2 separate regions of the Homo sapiens genome follow, and region 2 is linked to region 1. Evidence: promoter capture Hi-C in human tissues and cell types (Jung and others, 2019). All regions are on one chromosome and are shown on one strand. Each heading gives the region's core, a stretch centred on a gene start or on the middle of the fragment in contact. The rest is flanking DNA. Distances are from core to core; before and after follow the strand shown. Region 1 holds the start of TNR (tenascin R). Region 2 overlaps TNR (tenascin R).

Region 1 (7,067 bases), core at 1,828-4,327:
TCCTCCTTCCATCTTTCCCCACCACTGCTCATCTCCCCAGTCCTGGGTGGCAGCCCAGCAGTCTCCCCTACACAGTGAAGGGGGGTTGGGCATGAGAACTTAGTGGCTTTGTCTCCAGATTGCTGGCCAGATATGATGGCCAGGAATGCTGCAGAAGTGGCATTATATGTAAAGTGAGTTTGTATCCAGTTTCCCACTCCTCTTCTAGTGGTTCTATAGGTGGTCAGAGCCCAGCCCTCTCCTGCTCCTTAGTCATCCTTGCCACATTCAGAGCCACAGAGGACTCAATGAAGGTGGTCCCAGAAAAACGTTCTTAGAGAGAACAGTCACCAAACACCCAAAGCCAAGACATCCATGGCAACATGCCCCAGATAGGGTGGCTTCAGCTGGGATTTCTGGGGCATGGTGATGTGACAATCAGGTGCACGACATCAGTTCAGCCTAGATGCCACCAGCCCAGGGTTCTCTCTTTGCAGTAAGCCCAGAGAGCTCTTTACCTGGCTCTTGGCCATCTTCTTAGCTGAGAAGTAAAGGCCAGCAGCACCTTGAGACTTCTGGCTGATTCTCATTCTTCACCAGAGAGAGGCCATTGCTCCACACTGAGTTCCCTAAAAGGCTTTGGCTGCAAGTCTATCCAATGGGGAGCAATCCATTCCTTCTCTCCTGCACATGAGCATTACTGCATTTCCTAGGTGAGGGAATATTAGCAGGCTAGAAGTTCTATTTCTGCTTTCGCTATCCTCTGGCTTCCCACTTTAAGCGTCTGTGTCTCTCCATTTATAAAATGGGTCCAATAATGTCACTGAGCACTTTTTTTTCAGAGAAAATTTAAGGGCATTAATGAGATAATGACTACTAAGTATGGTGACTTCAGTAATAAACTGTGGTTTTGGACAGGGTCCACTGCAAGGGCATAATTTTTTAAAAATCCTCAGTGATGTGTCATGCAGAAATCTATCCACTCACTTGTTCAAACTGGAAGATTTCAAGGACAGGAGGTTTGGAATGTTAAAATACTGAATGAGTCAGTGTTGGTTTCTGATGCTCTGCATTTGTCTATTTCAGTCTTTCTTCCCTACCCTTACAACCTCTGACTTCACTGTCTTCCTGGATGCATTCTACTTCCTGCCACTCTAGGGAGATGCTAAGATTTCTGGATCCAATGCCAAGCATAGTAAAAAAGAAAAGTGGTGCCATTTCACTCAGAACTGTGTCTCTCACCCAGAAGGCTCCCCAGCCAGAGGCAGAGAGTATTTTCTTCATCTTGGAGAAGGGGCCCATTGTGCTGAATTAAAAATAAGACAAAGAATCACCATTCTAGGGTCCATTTGGGGTTGGAAAGAGTGAAACCACCCCACCTTGCCTATGTATCTCCCCTGTCTCAACACACTTGAAGAAAGTGACCAGAACCATAAACAGTTAGGGGTTAAATCAAGGGAAGACTTGCTCCTACAAGAAGCCACATCTCTTTCAAGTTCCCTGTAGGATGCTGGCTCCACGGAGACTTGAATGATTGAAGGAAATCCTCAACACCACTTGTTGAATGACTCAACCAGGTAGGTGTGGCCAGGACTGAATGGGGCAGGGGCAGGCCTATAGTGTCTCCAAGACAATACCAAAGCAGATGCAGGGAATTGACTGAACATACTTCAGAGAGGCAGAAAGCAGGAGAGACAGAGTAATACCTTGCAAAAAGTAGCAGCAGTGAAGAAAGAAGTAATAATGAGCTCCTGTTTGCAGAGCCTCTCAGTGCTGGAGGAGAACAGAGTACCACTTCAAGCCCTCCTGAGTCTGGGACAAGTCTAATTTTGTTTCTGCTCACCCTAGACATATAGAGACAAACCTTTATTCTTAGTTGTTTTTCACTGCCAAATGCCCCAGAAAACAGGGCAGAACAGACTTTGTCTTCTTTCCAACCACCCATAGCCAAAGATGGCATAAAAGTGGAGGGTACCTCCTGCCTCCTTGCAAATGTAATATAACCCACACCAGCCAGTCTCTGCAAAGCTCAAGACACTAGCACTTTCCTACCACCATGAAGTCAGAAGGGACCTCAACCCCCCAAAGCCGCCCCAGCCTGAGCTTCACCTGTTGCACCTGCCCACTTACCATGGGTTCACACCAGAAGAGAAAGTAAAAGGTCAGGTTGGGCTCTCTCCACAGCAAGAGCCCAGAGAATACTAGGAAACTGACATTTTACAAAGCACCTCTTTAAAGCTCTCTCAGAGGTGCGTAACTTTTAACTCTACCTCCACTCCCAACCCCCCAGGCTTCCTTTGCAACTCTTTCCCACCATGGATGGCTTGTCGGGAGAGAGTTAAAGAAGGTGCACGACTAATTCCCCAAACCATCTCGCTTATCTACAGACAAAAAGAACAGCCTTACATGGAGACACGCAGAAACCACCCGCAATTTAGCTCAGACCTCACCTGTCTTATGCAACAGTACACACACACACACACACACACACACACACACCCGCAAGGCCAGAGTCCAATCCCCCTTTAATTCGGTAAACATAGTTTTGCGCCTTTCTTTTCCCTACGCAGAACCCGACTCTACTGGCAGCAGAGAAATAGATGTAACCCTAGTGCCAAATGCCTTGCAGAACACACAGATACACAGGAACCAAAATGCATCTCATAGCTCTCCTTGGTGCTGAAATCACGTTAGCCAGAAAATCAAAGGAGCGAGTGCTCTGGACTTACCCAGGCTGGGGGTGGGCGGCCGGGGAGCGAGAGGAGCTTCCTGGGAAGAAAATTCTTGCTTGCTCAGGCTGGAGCCAGCTGATGCGCTCACCTAGAGAGCCCTCCTCTTTCCCTTCTCTTCCCTTCCTCCTATTCTGGGAGGAAGAGACAAGGCTCCACGAAAGAAATGAAACCCAAGCTGTCAGGGCTACGGGTGGAAGGAGAATGAGGAGGCAACCAAAATAAGATCAAAAAGTCAGGTGGCTTCACTCCACTAGTGGTAATTCCTTGGGTCAGAGAGGACCCCCTTCTCTCACTCTCCCTGGGTCTGCCCGTCTCCTCTGGGTGTTGAGCCAACAGCCTTAGCACAGTCGGTTCCTGCCTCTGACGTGAAAGAGAGGAGGAAGCCTGGGACTGCTTTGCTGTCTCTCTCTCTCTCTCTCTCTCTCTCTCTCTCTCTCTCTCTCTCTCACGCGCTCTCTCTTTTCCCCTCTTGCTGAAATTTCAGCAGCATGATTTTTTTAAGCCTCCGTTTTTTCCATCCCCCTACAAGCAGCCCCCTAGTGGACAGAAAAGAAAAGCATCCTAAATCCTCTTGAACAGTCCAGATTCAGGCACAGAAATACTCCCCGCACCCAACTCTTGGAGCTGCCTCTGCATAGGCAGGGTCCTGAAGAAGATAGAGGCTTCCCTCTGACCAACCCAGATAAGAAGAGAAAGGGAGAGGATGGAAGCTTTTGCAGATCCTTTGCCCATGATTGAAGGAGAAATCCAGGGTGGAATGGGTTGGGATAGAATGTTTTGGAATAAGGTCAGTTGTGGGGTTCTCAAGTGGTTTGAGGTCCGGGCTCAGCAGAAGGAACCCTCCAAAAAGTCAGCGTCTGCAGCCAGGTGAAGTATGTGTATACGTAGCACAACCCAGGCATGGGAATGCCTAAAGAGGCAGAGGATACAGGGAGCTGGCCCTTCATCCAACTCCACAATATAGCTTTTTTGTAAAGCTAGTAAGAAAAATATCTGAAAAGATATGGCCTGAGATCATCTCAGAAGTAGAGACAGAAGTGACCTTGATGCACATTTATGGAGAACCTTGGCAGAGAAGGGGCATCAAGGGGTCACTGCTCATAGGCTCATAAGGGATATCTAACATTCTCTTTTAAATGTACAGCCACACAGCCTCCCGGAAAGAGTCCTAATACTTACATCTAAAAATCTGAGTCCTGGTTTCAGACTGCCACTTGCTTACTGGACATTTTGCTTCTCTATGGCTCAATTTTACTGTTTGTAAAATGTGGATAATGCTGCCCCCTCCCTACTGAATAGGAATGCTAAGGGACTGGAATGATATAGAAACATAGAACCTCAGGATTGGCAGGGAATTTAAAGGTAATCTTATACAAACACTCTTCTTATATTTGATTCACTCCTGGCAAATAACAATAGCTAACATTTATAGAGTGTTTATACCAGGTGCTAGGCACTGTTATAAGCCCTTACATGTATTAGCTCATTTAAGCCATACAATAACTCTATAATGCAGAGGCTATTATTGCTACTCTATAGACTGGGAACTGAGTAACAGAGGAATGAAATAACTTTCCAAAGATCACACAACTAGTGAGTGTCAGGGATGGTAATGGAACCTGAGCCATCTGACCCTGGAGCTTCCTCATTGAATTACCATGTTCTATAAATGTACACTTCAGGAGTGACATTTGAAGTAAATAGAAGATAGCACCACAGTTATCATTGCTTTTATTTATGACAAAGTGCCTAGATTGTTACAATAAATTTATATGTGGCTGAGTTTTTAAAATAAAATATTTACCACTAGGGGTGCCAAACAAACTGTGGAAATTGCTATTACCGATGAGAATCTCCTAAGAAAATTAATTCTCTTGGTGATTTGGGTAGTTTCACATATACAAAACTGGCTTTAAATCTTATAAAATTGGAAACTATTGGGTTTTAACATCAGTTCAGAAGACACATCACTCAATTTCTGTACCAAAAGCAAATTATTGCCCACTGCCTAACACAGTGCAAGAACGGAGCCAGCAATTTGAAGAGCTGAAACGTTGTAATGCATTCAGGTAATAAACGCTCAGTGAGAAATTGACATTTTCTTCAGAATCTCAGAATTATGAATTCCTTAGCTGAGGTGGCTTACTTTTTCTGGCTTTTTTTTTTTTTTTGGGTGAAAAGTGGATGAAGTAGGACAAAGATGGTAGGTGACAATTAACAAATCATGGTCCCTGTCCTCAACAGAGTTACCAGTTCCTCAAAGGGGGAAAGAAAGAGCAAGACACAAATGATTACAATTCAAGGACTAAGTGCCAAGAATTTGGGCAGTGAGCACATGGAAAACACAACTAACTTGATCTTTGAGGGCTAGGGGAATTCCTAAGGTATGCAGCATCTAAGCTGAGGCCTGAATAATCAGAAGTCTTCCCAGCAAAAAGTGGGTGAGAGAATTAAGCTGAAGGCATAGCATGTGCAAACTCATGGAGGAGGGAAAGGGGAAAGAGCATAGTAGGAAACTTTCAAAGAAAGTATTACCCTTCCACTGACAAATGGGGAATCTGAGGCTCATAAAAGTTAAGTGGCTTGCTCAAGTTCACACATCTAATAAGTATAGAACCCAAATCAAATGCACATCTATTTGACTCTAAAGTCATCCCCTTTGTGAAGCATGATGATATCTTCTCTCATCACTTAGAAGTGCCCACACCATTTAATAGAGTGTTTCAATAACATAGAAGCTAACATAACCGAGTGAGGGTGTAGCATCTACCAGGAAGCTGGAAGTATGATCTGTTACTATTAGATGAGAAACCCATAAAAAAGGCACTAGTCAGTTCAAAAAAAGGGGAAATTTAGGGTGCTAGTATTTTTTTTCTGGTGGATGTACAATTATTAAATGTATTGGGAAGTAGGAATATTTCAGAAGTACGGAGACATCAGAGACTTGGATTTGAAATGAAGATGAATGTAGAAACGGCTAAAAGAAGGTTTCAGATTAAGTGCTCTGGGAGCCCAGAGGAAGGAAAGGTCCTTCTGCCTAGGAGGGGTTATGGGAGACTTCACCTGGGAAGTGGCCATTCATCTGGACCGTAAAGAATGTAGGTTCAGGAGACTGCTCCATTGCACCTAGACATTTTATAAATAGAAACATGAGATCCGAGTTTTCTTAATGAATAGTGAGACACTGATTAGAGGGAGAGTAGAAAGAAGATCATTGTAGACAGAAAGATGTGAAGCTTTGGAATATGGATGGGTTTGGGAAGAGTAGAAGAGAAGTGAGATTGATGGATGAATTTGATTTTGGATATGTCAGGCTTTGGGAGAGTGAGCTTATATACTATAATAGAGCTGTCCTGGCAGTGGCTGGAGTTCTGGAGCTCAGATGAGAGATCTGGATTGGTGATTTAGATCTGGAGCCCATTTACATGGACATAATAGTTGCTGGATGGAGACCACCAACAGGAGAGAAAACAAAGAAGACTGAGGGCAGAATCTCAACCCTATTTCCTTGACCTCTGGATCAAGTTTTATATTTCTTCTTTAGTCCTTGTAGCTGAAGTGCTTGATACCCAGAAAATAGCCTGAAAATACTTACTGATTGGCTCATAACAATAACCAAATATGTAGTTGAAGATGATATTGGGACTGAGATCAGTTACTTGTTCTTTGGATCAGTTACTGGTTTCTTGGCTTCTGATCTACTTCTAATGACAAGACCCCTCAATCACCATTCCTCTTTGGAAGCTGGTAATCATTGGCCCCTGGATCTTTTGTTTGTTTGTTTGTTTGTTTGTTTGTTTGAGATGGAGTCTCACTCATTCTGTCACCCAGGCTGCAGTGCAGTGGCGCGATCTCGGCTCACTGCAACCTTTGCCTCCCAGGTTCAAGATATTATTTTCTTGCCTCAGCCTCCCAAGTAGCTGAAATTACAGGCATGCACCACCACTCCCAGCTAATTTTGATATTTTTAATAGAGATGGGGTTTCACCATTATGGCCAGGCCAGACTTGAACTCCTGACCACAGGTGATCCACCTGCCTCAGCCTCCCAAAATGCTGGGATTACAGGCATGAGCCACCTGTCCAGCCAGCCCCCGAATTTTTGTTTTCTACCTAGCACTCCAGCCCCCAAGCTCTCCTCCACCAAACCGAGCATCTCCTTAGGCACCCAGCTATCTCCAGGGAATCAGGAGCCACTATGTGGTGAAATACCATGGTGGAATTTCACAAGGAAAATCCATACCATGACCAGCATTCCAGAAAGCTCTTGGATCAACCCTTCCAGTACTTGAGGTCTGGACATAGGGACTCAGGAAGTGCAACTGTGGCTTTTTGACAGAAAAGGGAAGGGAACCTA
Region 2 (7,067 bases), core at 2,230-4,729, 53 kb before region 1:
AGAACATCATCATTTCCACTGACAAGCACCATCTCACTTCTCTTCTTACTCACTTTTCTTATCTCTTAGAGCCCCCTTCGTGCCCTTAAGTTTCTCTAAGACACCTCTGCTTACTCTGTCTCCAGCCCCTGCCTTTACCCCTGCATTACGGTCTTCTTACAAAGGCTTATTTTTCCAAATGTTCAGTCTGCATTAGTCCCATCAATTCTTTACACCCACTGAAAGGAAGCATGCTATAATAGGAAGAACATAGCATTCAAAACAAAGCAACATGTTCTGTCCCTTCCTTTCCTTTTCTTTCTCCCAGAAACTTCCAGCTTACTTCTTCCCCATTTCTAAACCTTTCTAGACATAGTTAACCCCGAAATGAAGAAGAGAGGTGGTATGCTGAGCTAGCTCATGCCCAGCCTCATCTCCCATGTGCCTTCTTTTCTTTTCGAAAGACAATAATGGGGACTGAATTCATGATGAAGTCCCCTGCTCCCCACACCGAGAAAACATGAGCCACAATGTGAGGCAGATGCCCTGTCAGGATCACATGCTTCAAGCAAGATGCATCCCATATGGCTCAGGCTGAAGACTGCCCAGCCCTCCCTATCTTCTGCTGTTAGCGCCCCCCACCACACCCTCCCCTCCCCCAGAATACGCTCCAATCTTCCAGCAAGCTGGGCGTGAATACACCAGCCATCTCAAACACCCAGGGATTTGGGGAAAGTGTTAAGAAGGAATGTAAACAATACATACTAATTGCTGCTGTGACATAAGTTATAAATTAAATTAGATGGGTCAGAGCGCTGTACTCCCCTTCTCCCCAGCCTCCTTGGGAACACGATGGGAGAACAAGCGTCTCACATAGAGGAAACTGACTTCTAATGAGCACTTCTGACATTTCAATAACTAGGGCCCTGGATGCCTTGTGTCAAATGAGCCCTCAGCTCTGCTGAGTGCCAAGGTTCCAGAGCATTCTAGGCTGGGTACAGGGAGGAGCCCCAGTCCCACGGGGGTTGTGGCAGACAAGCCTATCTACAGCTCCTGTGCTTCTCATTAGGGTTGCAGACTTGAGAATGAGCACTTCAGAATCAGCCCTGACTTAAGAAGAGGCCGGGAAGAAAGGAGGCAGTGAGCTTTCTAAATAACTGTGATGAGGCTTGCTATTCCGTTTTGTTGTGACTGCCCAGGAAATCTCTCTGCCTGGAGCAAAGCAGATGCTAAATGAACATTAGTTGAGCAAATGAATGAATGAACAAATGAGGAAGAGAATGACTGAGTCTGTTGCAGACCCCAAATGCCACAGACCCCAGTTTTGTTCTGTTTTGTCCACTGAGTAACCCAGGAAGCAGAGGGCAGTGGGACCAGTTAGAAAGGAAGGAAATGAGGATGCAATTTGCATGGTGTGGGTACCTGAGAGGCCTTGCCTTTGCCACTAGCAATCCCTAAAGCTGGCTGGATTTAACAGAATTCAGAAGCAACATGTGACTTTGTTTGGTAAAGTCAGAGTGCAGTGAGGACTAGGCCCTAAGTTTCTGTTTGTTTTTTCCCAAAACTCCCTACCCATGAGCCAGTTCTCTGTAAGTCACTTCCATTCTCATCTTTCTGCCCTCTCAGAGAGTTTCTTCCATGCTGCAAGGCCAAGGCCATGTCTTTTATGACAGAAGCCAGAGATGGTGTTGTCAAAGTCATTCACTCAGCAAACATTATACAGTGACCTCTGCATGCTTGGCACTATGTTGTGCTCTGGGAATCCATAAATGAATAAAACACGGCCACTAACCTCAGGGGGCTCCCAGTCTAGTGAGGAGATGGCAAGCACACAGGTAACTAGAGTTCTTGGCATCCTGCAGGCCTCAATGCCCTGGCTGTCTCTGTAGGACCACGTCGGAAACCCTCCCACTGATGGCTCATGTGAAGCCCAGAGAGGACCAGAGGCCTGAGCCTGGAATCTTCTCCTGGCTTCTGCCTAGGGCTCTTTGTCCTTCACCAGGCCACTATGCAACATCTTGGCCACCCAGAGGGACTCCAGACAGTGGCACACTGCCTCTTCATCACCTCCCTGCTTGCTAAAACATGTCACAAAGAGCCCGTCTTTCCACAGGGATACCAGGTAGCATGACCGAATACCTTAATCTACCCCAGGTTTTTTTCCCCATTGTTTTCATCTGTACAAATCCAAGGTGCCAAATACCTCTTAGATTGGAGGCCTGCAAGCTTCCAGGGAGGGAAATGATGCTGGGAGCAGGGCTATTTGCATGTTTTCATTAACGCAGGCTATGGCTGGCCAGGCTGCCAGCTCCCTTGAATGCGTGTCTTCCTGGGGTGATAGAGAATCAATTGGCTTGATGCAACTTCTGGATCCTTGTTACAGCCCTGGCTTGGGTCCCGTGGAGGCCCTCAGACAGACATCAATAACCTTGCCTCTCATTGCCTTTATTGGCCTCGATGCCATCCCATTAGAATGCACCAATATTTATGCACATTTTAATGGCACTGCCAACAGCAGCATTATAACAGGGTGGCCAGACAGGGAGGGGTGAGGGAAGACTGCAGGCTGCGTTTTCTCTCTCTCACTGTGCTTATTCAATCTACAGGCAGAGGGTTTCTTTCTCACTAAGTCCTTTTCTCCAATACCTGAGGCCTCGGTTTCCGTTACTACCCAGAGGCTCAATACTAATAGGTAGAATTTGTTGTGAATCAATAATAGGCAACACACACTATTTTCCATGATTCATTGTTTCATGTAATTGTCACAACATTAAGTAGGATAATGGTACTGCTATTTAACAAATGGATAAGTCAAGGCTCAGAGTTGGTAAGCAAGTTCAAGGTCATACAGCTGTAAGCAGGTTTACAGGCAAAATTACAAGTTCATATAGGAAGAACCAGGCTTTTGGCTTAGATCCGGGCCAAAGCTATGTCTTTTTATTCTATTACATTGCCGTGGATCTTTATAACTCAATAAACATAATAAATTTTGATTTGAGTACCTACTACGTGTGGGGTACTGTTATAGGCTCTGAAGTACTGAAGTGACAAAGACAGATGAGGTCTCTGCTTCAGTGTCTGGACATCATAAGAGAATCAACAAATGTTTACACAAGAACATATGATCTGGTGACAAGTGTGCAAAGCATTAAAATAGACTGATGTGAGAGTGAGTGATGGGGTTGCTACTTCTAGATGGGGTGACCAGGAAAGTCCTCTTGAGAAGGTGACAGTCACACTGAGTCATAAAGAGCAAGAAGGGGCATTCCACATGACTCTCAGAAGACACAGCTCAGTCCCCAGGTGGGAATAAGCTGGGTGGGTTTGAGGACAGGAGGGAAGACCCGTGTGGCTGTAGCAGAGCAGTTGGGAGGATGAGAGGTGGTGAGGCAGGTGCAGAGCTAGGCAGGACTGGATCCTCTTGGCTTAAGTGCCAGGGGGAGCCATTTGGGTTTAAGTTTGATTGTGATAACAAGTCACTGGACTTGATCTGAAGTAATTATTTAATGTTCCCTCTGGCTTTGCGCAGAGAAGTATTGGAGTAGAACAAAAGAGAAACAGGTGGAGTGAGTTAGGAGACTATTGTGATGGCAGCTGAGGGAAGGGTGGGAGTCATTGAAGGAGGAGAGAAGATTGAACATATTCTAGATAGATTTAGGAAGTAAGATACATGAGACTGGCTGATGGATTGGATATGAGGTGTGAAGCAGAATGACAAATCAAGGAAACCTTCTAGGTTTGGGAACTAATCAACTTGGTGAGTCATGATAGCATTTGTTAAAATGGACTGTTGGATGAAGAATTTGTTGGGGTGTTTGGCACAGGAAGTCAAGAGTTCTTTGGGGCCATTTTAAACTTGAGATGTTAATTAAACATCTCTATAGTAAGTAGTTGGATAGCACCATGGACAGCATGCAGCTGAGAAGGGTGTCCAGTCCTATCCACACCTTAACACCCAGCAGCAGAGCAGAACAAGGTGGCTCTGCAGAGCAGGATGGGAAACGCAGGCCACAGGTAGGAAGAAAACCTAGAGAAAGTGATGTCAAGGAAGTTGAGAGATCAACGGTTTCAAAATAGTAATATTAATGATGATGATAATTATAAGAGGAGGAGGAAGAGGAAGGTAGTAGTAGTAACAACAAAGAACTTATTATGTGACAGGCACAGTTGTAAGAGTTTCCTGTGTTTTAACTAACTTTAATTCCCACAACAAGCCTAAAAAGGAGATACTGTTATTCTCTCCAAATTCTAGATGAGACAACTGAGGCACAGAGAGGCTACTCAAAAGTGAAATCTCTGGTCTCTCTACCCACTGTGTTCCTTAACAAGCCAGACCCAGCCCCTTCTTTCCAGGCCCTAAAAATCAGCTTCAGAGCCTTAAACAGGTACTGACTGAGTTCTCGGTAGGTCCTGTCCTTTTTCAGCCCCAAACTTGGTTTATTAATCTCTTTGTCGGTTTCAATGCTCAGATCAGGGGAAACCTGTTAGCTTAGGTGACAGACAGGCAGCCTGCAGCTGTGGGGAGTAATCAGATTTCTTATTTTTGCTCTATTCTCCAACACAAACCTTTTCTTCAGGCTCATTCTCTCCCTAGCTGCCAAAACCATCGTGTGATATTCCCACATGCATTCCGTTTCAGGAGGGCTATCCCATGCCATCCTGAAATGGCTCCAATTCCTGTCTCAAGACTCATCCAAGCCTCACCTCCTCTGAGGGGCTTCCTTGAGAAGAATACCCACATTCATCTCTACAACCTCTCAGAAATTATTTCATATATAATTAATTTTCATTCTTAATTAAGTTCAATTTTGCACTTTGCATCGGCAAAGTAGTTCGGTTCCCATGACATACTTCACAGTCAAAATGCTATTACCAGAGGTGGAAGTAACAATGAATGGAGCAAAATGTATCCGTGGGTGTCAGGAAAGGGAATAAGAGGGATAAAATGAAATTAGATGCCAATTAACCTTGGGGCAGACACATGCAAGAAGAGGGGCCATTGAAGAGAGCCAGGGAAAACATGGTCTGGGTCGGGACACTCCAGGACTGGGAAAAGACCTGGCTCTGCCCCTGGCAATGCTTGGGACATGGTCTTGTGCAGCTAGACATGGCCCTGGCTGGACCTCCAGAGAGGAGGCACAGGGGCCATCTGGGAATTTACTGGTTCTTGTCACATCCTTCCAAGATGGACCAAATATATGTGTGCGTGGCATCTGCCCTAGCGATGGTTAATATAAGTGGAGAGTGCCTCAAGTTCCCTTCATCCATCTTTCCATCTGCCTTGGGTCTGAAATTTGCACACTTGAAGAATAAAGTCTTTAATTTGCAGCTATAAACAAGTAAGCTCATTTTCCCACGTACAGTTGAGAGAACACCATGGGCAAAGATCAGTCTCACTGAGGGCTAAGCAGGAGTAAGCAGTGGAGAGGTGGCCAGAGGAGTTACTGCCCTGAATGGGTCCACTAACAGGGGAGAGGAGAGGAAGGTCTCATGAAAAGGGCAGTGGGAGACTTGGGAAGAAGAGTCATGAACTTCACAGGCCCTAGTATAGGCCCTACCTTCCTTCAAGGTGTGCAGACAAACAGAGACAAATAGGGTAAAGAGGGATTATTTGTTACACATTGTTATGTGAACTGGTGAGGACGTATGCAGGGAGACAACATCACATGTAGGGAGAACCATATCAGTCCTGCTTCACAGAATTGGGAAGAATGTTCACCCATTCATTCATCCAACAAATATTCATTGAACATCTACTCTGTGCAGGCACTGTTCCAGGTGCTTGCAATATGCCATTGAGGAAAACAGACACAGACCTCTGCACTTGTAAAGTTATTCAAGTGACAGGACACAGACAATAAACTACAAACATGACAAACAGTTGTAAACTACATAGAATGTTAGAGGTAATGAGGTCACAGTCTTTGGAAAAAAGAGACTTATTTCCCAAAAAGTACTGCATCATCACACACAATCCCAGCTTGCTCTCTGTTACCTCTCCAGGAGTCTCTGAGGCTGGAGTGGCCACACTGCTCACTTCTCTTTTATTTCTCAAACACCCTCCACCATCCACCTGTCTCCCTTGTAACCTGTACTACACATGTGTGGGACACAGAGAAGGTGCTCAATCATGTGTGGCATCAAATTAACCATCCTAGTTTAGGAACACAAACTGTCTCCCGACAGAAATCCTCCTCTAAGATGATCTGTTTACCTGTTTGCCAGGGCCCTAGAGCCCCGTCTCCATTGATCATCCCCTGTGTCACATGTGGGAAATGTGGTTATCCAAGGAGACTTTGATGATTAATTTCCCTCCCTCCTCTTAGGTTTCCCAGGAGCCCATCTGTACGCTGTCATTCACAATGCCTCCTCTCCTGGCCATTCCTGACTCACAAGAGGGATGGGGATGAGGCAAACACTGTGTTCTACAGGTGACTGTTCTAAAATTTGCCACATAGGACTGAGAATGCTTTGATTGAATCTCACGTCTACAGCCCCAACACCCTGAATGCGCCCAATCTCATCTGATTTGATCTCATTTCCAGCAATGTGTATACATGCATGAAATGGAGAAGCCAGCCTCCTTGCATGTGTCCAGCACGAGGGATGATGAGCAATAACTTTCTGTACAATAAAATCATGGACCATGCTGAAGTACATTTCAACTGCTCTCTTGTCCTTAACTTATTCATGTATATAAAACATCAAATTCTATAAAGACTTAGCTGAGGAATGCCTTTAAATTCAGTATATGTAAAAAGTAGAAGAATAAGCCTTCAAAATCCACTGTTTGTATATGCCAGAGTTCTTTGAGGCTCAATCCCAGGATCCTTTCTCTTCTTACTCATGTTGTATTTATGTCTAGTTTTACCCATGTCCTCTCTTCAGACACCACCTCTCTGCCAATGGCTCAGAATCCAATATTTACAGTCTAGACTTTTCCTCTCAGTCTTATAACAAAGTACCATACAGTATCCCAAGGGATATCCCTACTTGGTTGACCTCCAGGCTCTTCAACACTCCACAATCAGAACAAATTCATGGTCTTCCTGCCATCACTTCTGAATCTGGACCTGTTCCATCATTCT

What was found. The method cuts DNA at HindIII sites, captures the fragments that hold promoters and counts their contacts. A contact is called where the count stands out against the background at its distance.
Region 2: a fragment that was not itself captured here is called in contact with the fragment with the promoter of TNR in region 1 in 1 of the 25 tissues and cell types used here (bladder).

Annotation. Positions count from the first base shown.
Region 1 is chr1:175,740,518-175,747,584 of GRCh38, forward strand. TNR (tenascin R) reads right to left here and starts at 3,078. Exons shown (of 23, transcript NM_003285.3): 1 at 2,709-3,078. The HindIII fragment of the contact is 10,162 bases long and covers 1-4,684 here.
Region 2 is chr1:175,687,237-175,694,303 of GRCh38, forward strand. The region is part of intron 1 of TNR (tenascin R); the gene reads right to left. Among named protein-coding and RNA genes, the nearest start is that of TNR, 53 kb to the right of the region's middle. The HindIII fragment of the contact is 8,304 bases long and covers 1-7,067 here.